Linked DNA regions of Homo sapiens: all the other regions are linked to region 1. The links are contacts of gene promoters, found by promoter capture Hi-C in human tissues and cell types (Jung and others, 2019). All regions are on one chromosome and are shown on one strand. The core of a region is centred on a gene start or on the middle of the fragment in contact, and the rest is flanking DNA. Distances in the headings are between cores, read along the strand shown.

Region 1 (2,700 bases), core at 130-2,629:
GGCTTTGAAGAAGGTGAATATAGACCCTGCCCGATGCCGGCTGGCTAGGAAGAAAGGAGTGAGGGAGGCTGCTGGTGTGGGAGGCTTGGGAGGGAGGCTTGGCATAAGTGTGATAATTGGGGCTGGAGATTTGGCTGCATGGAGCAGGGCTGGAGAACTGAAAGGGCTCCTATAGATTATTTTCCCCCATATCCTGCCCCAATTTGCAGTTGAAGAATCCTAAGCTGACAAAGGGGAAGGCATTTACTCCAGGTTACACTGCAGCTTAGAGCCCAATAACCTGGTTTGGTGATTCCAAGTTAGAATCATGGTCTTTTGGCAGGGTCTCGCTCTGTTGCCCAGGCTGGAGTGCAGTGACATAATCATGGCTCACTGTATCCTTGACCTTCTTTCTGGGCTCAAGCAATCCTCCCACCTCGGCCTCCCAAAGTGCTAAGATTACAGGAATGAGCCACCATACCTGGCCCTGAATCTTGGGTCTTGGCCTTAGTAATTAAAACCAATCACCACCATCCGTTGCGGACTTACAACCTACAGTGTTCTAAACATTTTATATGTTTGATCTCATTTAATCCTCACATCAATTTAGGGACAAAGAGCCCCCCACCCCCCGTTTTTTTTTTTACAGCTGAGGAAACACTTCAAAGTGGTAAGACATTTGCCCGAGGTCCTGAAGGAAGAGAGTAAAGCCATGTCTGCTGTTTTCTAGAGGCTGCTACTGTCCCCTTTACTGCCCTGAAGATTCAGCCTGCGGAAGACAGGGGGTTGCCCCAGTGGAATTCCCCAGCCTTGCCTAGCAGAGCCCATTCCTTCCGCCCCCAGATGAAGCAGGGAGAGGAAGCTGAGTCAAAGAAGGCTGTCAGGGAGGGAAAAAGAGGACAGAGCCTGGAGTGTGGGGAGGGGTTTGGGGAGGATATCTGACCTGGGAGGGGGTGTTGCAAAAGGCCAAGGATGGGCCAGGGGGATCATTAGTTTCAGAAAGAAGTCTCAGGGAGTCTTCCATCACTTTCCCTTGGCTGACCACTGGAGGCTTTCAGACCAAGGGATGGGGGATCCCTCCAGCTTCATCCCCCTCCCTCCCTTTCATACAGTTCCCACAAGCTCTGCAGTTTGCAAAACCCTACCCCTCCCCTGAGGGCCTGCGGTTTCCTGCGGGTCTGGGGTCTTGCCTGACTTGGCAGTGGAGACTGCGGGCAGTGGAGAGAGGAGGAGGTGGTGTAAGCCCTTTCTCATGCTGGTGCTGCCACACACACACACACACACACACACACACACACACACACACACACACCCTGACCCCTGAGTCAGCACTTGCCTGTCAAGGAGGGGTGGGGTCACAGGAGCGCCTCCTTAAAGCCCCCACAACAGCAGCTGCAGTCAGACACCTCTGCCCTCACCATGAGCCTCTGGCAGCCCCTGGTCCTGGTGCTCCTGGTGCTGGGCTGCTGCTTTGCTGCCCCCAGACAGCGCCAGTCCACCCTTGTGCTCTTCCCTGGAGACCTGAGAACCAATCTCACCGACAGGCAGCTGGCAGAGGTGGGCAAACACCTAGTCTAGAGTTGGGGAGGGCTGTCCGTGAGGGTGTTGAGTGTCCCAGAGAGGATGCAGGGCCTCAGAGGAGATGCTTTAGGGGTGTGTTGGTGGTGATGGGCGTATCTGAAGAACAGAGGTGTCCAGGGTTAGGCAGTGGGGGGTCTTGTGGAGGCTTTGAGCAGTGATGGCCAGAAATGGGCAATGGGGCTTTCCTAGGTGGGAAATGGGAAATGGTTTGGGGTGGGGGAGGCATTGGAGGGTTCTGGGGTAAGCATAGGCTGGGAGTGAACAGGGGCAAACCTTATGCAGCTGTGGGGTAGAAATGGGCTAGAGGCATCCAGGGGTGAGAAGGAGCTGAGGATGTCTAAGGAGGGGAGATCCCTGGGTGGTCAGAAAGCACTGGTGTCTGGAAAGCATTTAATGCTTTATTAAATGTTAGTCCCTGCTGGGCATGACGGCTCACACTTGTAATCCCAGCACTTTGGGAGGCTGAGGTGGTAGGATCGCTGAAGCTCAGGAGTTTGAGCCCAGCCTAGGCAACATAGTAAGATCCTGTCTCTACAAAAAAATTAAAGAAATAGCCAGGCACAGTGATGTGCACCTGTAGTTCCAGCTATGCAGAAGGCTGAGATGGGAGGATCGCTTGAGTCCAGGAGGTCCAGGCTGCAGTGGGCTGATACCGTCTCTCCGAAAAAGAAAAAGAAAAAAGACTCCCTCCATGAGTGTCTGGAGGGAGTCCTTTGGCCCCAGCTGGGCAGAGAAAGGGGTCAGAGATCTGGCATGTGTGTGTCCCTTCATCCACAGGAATACCTGTACCGCTATGGTTACACTCGGGTGGCAGAGATGCGTGGAGAGTCGAAATCTCTGGGGCCTGCGCTGCTGCTTCTCCAGAAGCAACTGTCCCTGCCCGAGACCGGTGAGCTGGATAGCGCCACGCTGAAGGCCATGCGAACCCCACGGTGCGGGGTCCCAGACCTGGGCAGATTCCAAACCTTTGAGGGCGACCTCAAGTGGCACCACCACAACATCACCTATTGGTGAGCCGGGGCCGTGGGGGCAGCGGGGTGGGGCGGGGAGGCCAGGTCTGGCTCTTGGGCCAGCGGTGAACATGTCCTGTCTTGGACGCGTCCCTGGGTTTCACTATTTAATGTGTGGCCCCTGGGGAGT
Region 2 (2,700 bases), core at 90-2,589, 300 kb after region 1:
AGAGGTTCCAAGGAGCGAGCACCTCGGAAGACCTGAGCAGCTTCAAACAGCAGCTTCTCTGCCCGCCACAAGGGGGTGCCCTGCACCTCGGGGAGACCTCGGGGGATCCTGGATCAGCCCTACCCTCTGCAGCCCCGCCTGGGACAGGGCCCGACGTTGCCAGAGAAGAGGCAGCGGGGAGGCGCGAGCGAGACGGGTCCACACTGTGCCCACCCAGGGCTGCCCGGCACCCCGCGCGCCCACGCAGTCCACTCTTCACAGTAAACGCCGCGGCCCCCGAGGGTTAGCCCTAAGTGGCGCTCTCTTTGGACGTTAGGCTGTCGGGGGCCCCGTCCTTCTTCCCCAGCGGGGACGGTGTCTCCGGAGTCGGGTCCTAAGGAAGAGAGCAGCGCTGGCTCTCGCTCACCGCCAGCCCGCCCGACGGCCATAGGGCAGGGGGGGTCGCGCCGGTGGGGCCGGCAGGGGTCCCTGTGGGCCGCCTCCCCGGCTCAGAGGGGACCAGAACCGTGCGTGTCGCCGCGGCTGGAGTCAGCCTCCGGGTGTCCCCGGACGCGGCACGACCTCGCACACACACACCGCGCGCACACGCTCGCGCCGTGCGGTATTTTCCCGGCCCCGGACCCCGCCTCTGGGAGGGGCCGGGGAGCCGAGCCCCGCTAGCAGGGTTGGGGGACCGGGAACGCCTGGGTCCCAGCCCTCGCGTCAGGGCTGTGCGCCACCTTCCCAGCCCCTTTTGGCGCGCCGGCTCGGCCCCTGGCGCTGCCACCCCTCGGCCCGCGGGGGTCCCGGAGGCTCCCGGGCGCGCGGCGGACGAGGTTGTGGGGACGGGTGGGAGCTGCGGGCTTCGGGCCGAGAGGCGGCTCGGCTCCGCGCCGGGGAAAGTTTGGACGTGGGAAACTCCCTCCCCGCCCTCCCGGCCGAGAGGAGGGGGCGCGCAGGGCCGGGCGCAGGCACCCCGGCTCCTCCTGCGGCTGGAGGCTCGCCCCCCGCGCCGCCTGCCCGGCCGCTCCCGCCGGCCAGGGGGCTCCCTCCCTGCCGGGCAGCCTCCCCTCGGCGGCGATCCGGCCGCTCCTCCCGCGGCACCCCGCGCTCTTACCTCGGGGAGCGGCCCGGGGCTCCCCCTAGTCCTGCCGCCTCGGGACGCTGCGTGGGGCGGGAGCCCCGGCGCGGGCAGCGGGCGAGTCCGGAGCCCCGCGGCCGCCCGCAGGAGCCGGAGGGAGAGCGGGAGCGAGAGGGGGAGCCGCGGCGGCGTGTGCGCGCGTGTGTGTGAGCGAGAGAGCGAGAGAGCGAGAGAGCGAGGGAGTGAGCGAGCGAGCGGGAGCGAGGGAGTGTGCGTGTCTGACTGGGGGGAAGTGTGCAAGGGACGGATCCCTTCCTTCCTCCCGCAGCCTCTGGTGGAGACTCGGAGAATGCAGGGCCCGCCGGGCAGGAGCCGCGCAGCGCCAAGCCGCAGGCGGCCGCCGGCCCGGACCCCCGCAGCCGGGGAACCCCAGCCCCCGCCCCCCGGATCGCGCCCCTCCTACACCAGGAGGGGACAGCCTTTCCCTCTCTCGGGCGGCCCAGTCCCAGGAAACCCCCCAGGGGACAGTGCCCCTCCCTCCTCCAACCCCAGATCCGCGCGAAGGGAGCGCCCCCAGGAGGGGGACCATCTACCTCCTCGCCTGGCAGCTCCCCAGGTGGCCGCAGTTTGAGACCAGAGCCTATTTCCCCACCTGATTTTACTGCGAATAGGGCTTCCCATTTCCGCCCCCTGACTACTGCGGGAGGCCGCCTTCAGAGGAGCAGGGGCGCAGGCCAGGGTAGGAGCAGGCTTCTCGAACAGTGGCCGCCCCGGCTTGCTGCCCAGAAAGGCACCTTGCACAGACCAGATCTGCCAGTTCAGAAACAGTCACTGTGCATTGAGGTGGACACCGACCAGGTGCCCAGGGCTGAGTCTCCAGGCAGGTGGGAGGTCGGGTGTCCCCGGGAGAGAAACTTGTGGGCTTTTCCTCTGGAGAGTCCCGCTGGACATCCTTGCAACCAACAAAGTAAGCAGGCAAAACAAGACACCTCCATCCTTAACTTGGTGCCACCTTGACCTGGAGAAGTCTCCCAATAAAATCTTCCCACTGCCCAGAAACTCCTTGCTGGTTGGGTTTTCCGTTCTTTTAAAAATCCGGCTGGTCTGCTCCCTGATGTTTTTTCCACCTGGCCCTGTTTCTTTCTCCTGGCTGCCTGGCTCTCCTTACTACTTCATCTCTCTGGGATGAGGCCTAATGGAGGAGACCCTCCCACCCCACTCCTGAGTTCCCAATATGAGGTCGTTGATGGTAGGATAGGACCAGTGACTCCCATAGACCCACCCTTTGTCTTGGGTTGTAGGTCCCCTTAGGAGTTGCCCGCCCCCCTATTCCCCATGGCTTCCAGATAGGTGAGTGAAGGATAACAGGAGACTGGACAGCTGCAGACCTCTGTCCCGCCAAGCTGCCAATGACCAGCCATTTAATCACCCACAAGCAGCTGCTGAAGTTCATGGCAAAGAGGGGGCAGGGCCCTCCAGGACCCCCAGCTCTACCTCGCCCCTATCCTTCTCTCCTCCTCGCCTCCTTCCCCAATTTCCATCTCCATCTCCACACCCTAGTCCGTCTTGCTGATGATTGGAATCACCTCTCCTGCTGGCTGCCCCTCTGGCCCCTCCTACTAAACTCCATCATTCATTTA
Region 3 (2,700 bases), core at 1-2,500, 420 kb after region 1:
ATGGGTCCAAAAAAATAGAAAGAATGAGTAACACCTGATATTTGACAGCATAACAGGGTGATGACAGTCAATAATAATTTAATTGTACATTTAAAAGCAACAAAGAGTACAATTGGATTGTTTGTAACACAAAGGAAAAATGCTTGAGGTGATGGATACCTGGTTTATCCTGATGTGATTATTACACATTGTATGCTAGTATCAAAATATCTTATGCAGCCCATAAATATACATAACTACTATGTCTCCACAAAAATTAAAAGTTAAAATTAAAAAAAGAGAAATGATTAAGCTTAGTGAGGGAGGCATGTTGAAAGCCAAGAAAGGTCAAAAGCTAGGCATCTTGCACCAAACAGCCAAGTGGTGAATGCAAAGAAAAACTTCTTGAAGGAAATTAAAAGTGCTAATTCAGAACACATGAATGATAAGAAAACAAAAGAGCCTTATTGCTGATACAGAGAAAGTTTGAGTGGTCTGGATAGAAGATCAAACCAGCTGCAACATTCCCATAAACCGAAACCGAATCCAGAGCAAGCCCCTAACTCTCTTCAATTCTATGAAGACAGAGAGGTGAAGAAGCTGCAGAAGAAAAGTTTGAAGTTATCAGAGGTTGGTTTATGAGGGTTAAGGAAAGAAGCCATCTCTATAGCATAAAAATGCAAAGTGAAGCAGCAAGTGCTGATGGAGAAGCTGCAGCAAGTTCTCCAGAAGATCTAGCTAAGATCACTGATGAAGGTGGCTACACTAAAAAACAGATCTTCAATGTAGACAAAACAGCCTTCTATTGGGAGATGATGCCATTAAGGACTTTCGCAGATAGAGAGAAGTCAATGCTTGGCTTCAAAGCTTCAAATGATAGGCTGACTCTCTTGTTAGTAGCTAAGGTAGTTGGTGACTTTAAGTTGAAGCCAATGCATATTTCCCATTTCTCAAGTCTTAGAGCCCTTTAGAATTATGTTACATCTCTTTGGCCTGTGCTCCATAAATGTAACAACAAAGCCTGGATGACAGCACATCTGCTTATAGCAAGGTTTACTGATTATTTTAAGCCCACTGTTGAGAACTGTGCTCAGAATAAAAAAGATTCCTTTCAAAATATTACTGCTCATCGACAAAACACCAGGTCACTCAGAAACTCTGATGAAGATGTACAAGGAGACAAATGTTGTTCCTATCCCTGCTAACACAGTATCCATTCTGTAGCCCATGGATCAAAGAGTAACTTTGACTTTCAAGTCTTATTATTTAAGAAATACATTTTGTAAGGCTATAGCTGCCATAAATAGTAATTCCTCTGATAGGTCTGGGAAAAATACATTGAAAACCTCCTAGAAAGAACTTACTATTCTAGATTACATCAAGAATGCTTGTGATTCAGGAGAAGAGGTCAAAATATCAACATTAATAATAATTTAGAAGAAGTTGATTCCAACTTTTATGGATAACTTTGAGAGACTCAAGGCTTCGGTGGAGGAAGTAACTGCAGATGTGATAGAAATAGCAAGACAACTAGAATTAGAAGTGGAGCCTGAAGGTGTGCCTGAACTGCTGCAATCTCATGAGAAGACTTTAATGAGTGTGGAGTTACTTTTTATGAATGCTCAAAGAGAGCAATTTATTGAGATGGCAACTACTTCTGGGGAAGAGTCTATCAACATCGTTAAAATGACGACAAAGGATTTAGAATATTACATAAATTTAGTTGATAAAGCAACTGCAGGGTTTGAGAGGATTGACTCCAATTTTGAACGTTCTACTGTGGGATAAATGCTATCAAACAGCATCACATGCTACAAAGAAAGCTTTCATGAAAGGAAGAGTTGATTGATGCAGCCAACTTCATTGTTGTTTTATTTTAAGAAATTGCCACAGTCACCCCGAACTTCAGCAAACTACCACTCACATCAGTCAGTAGCCATCAACACTGAGGTAAGACCCTCCCACCAGCAAAAAGATTACGACTCACTGAAAGCTCAGATGATCATCAATATTTTTTAGCAATAAAGTATTTTAAAATTAAGGTATGTACATTTATAGACATAATGCTATTGCCCACTTAATTGATGACAGTATAGAGGAAACATAACTTTTATATGCACTGGGAAACCAAAAAATTCATATGACTCACTTAATTGCAATATTAGCTTTATTGTAGTGGTCTGATACTGAAGTTGCATTATCTCTGAGATATGCCTGTATATCTTCCTTTGAATGCTTCTTCGGTCATAGTTCACAGATTTTTTATTTTTTGTGCCCTCATTGTTATTCATTAGAAATAATTTATAATTTCTACTTTAATTTTTCTTTTGAACCCAATAGATAGTTAAAAGAGTAGGTTTTGAATATTCATGTCTATAGGGGTTTTGTTGGTAATGAGGTTTTTGTTTGTTTGGCTATTCTTTGGCGATTTCTAGTTTTATTGCATTGTGGTCTGTGAACACATTTCTGCCATTTAGAATATAGTGGAATTTCCTCTGAGAATTCTGCGGGGATGGTTGTTGAATACATCTGTGCTGCCTTCATCCTTCAATTTAAAACCAGCTACTGAACCTTTTGTGAGCCAAGCAGCTTCTGGGGTTTAGAGATCTAGTGCATCTCTGGGGTCCAGAAGAAGGGAGTTGGCAGAGCAAGTTTCTGCTTCTGAGCCCCACGACAGCCCGGGGACTGGAGGTGCAGAGCCCAGGAGTAATGGTCAGAAGA

What was found. The method cuts DNA at HindIII sites, captures the fragments that hold promoters and counts their contacts. A contact is called where the count stands out against the background at its distance.
Region 2: the fragment with the promoter of CDH22 here is called in contact with the fragment with the promoter of MMP9 in region 1 in 1 of the 25 tissues and cell types used here (neural progenitor cells).
Region 3: a contact is called between a fragment that was not itself captured here and the fragment with the promoter of MMP9 in region 1, in 1 of the 25 tissues and cell types used here (pancreas).

The regions. Positions count from the first base shown.
Region 1 is chr20:46,007,529-46,010,228 of GRCh38, forward strand. MMP9 (matrix metallopeptidase 9) reads left to right here and starts at 1,380. Exons shown (of 13, transcript NM_004994.3): 1 at 1,380-1,536; 2 at 2,338-2,570. The coding sequence starts at 1,399. The HindIII fragment of the contact is 9,924 bases long and covers 1-2,700 here.
Region 2 is chr20:46,307,159-46,309,858 of GRCh38, forward strand. It overlaps CDH22 (cadherin 22), which reads right to left and starts at 1,340. Exons shown (of 12, transcript NM_021248.3): 1 at 1,097-1,340. The HindIII fragment of the contact is 29,361 bases long and covers 1-2,700 here.
Region 3 is chr20:46,428,264-46,430,963 of GRCh38, forward strand. The region is part of intron 2 of LOC105372633 (a long non-coding RNA gene); the gene reads left to right. Among named protein-coding and RNA genes, the nearest start is that of ELMO2, 23 kb to the left of the region's middle. The HindIII fragment of the contact is 3,067 bases long and covers 1-2,700 here.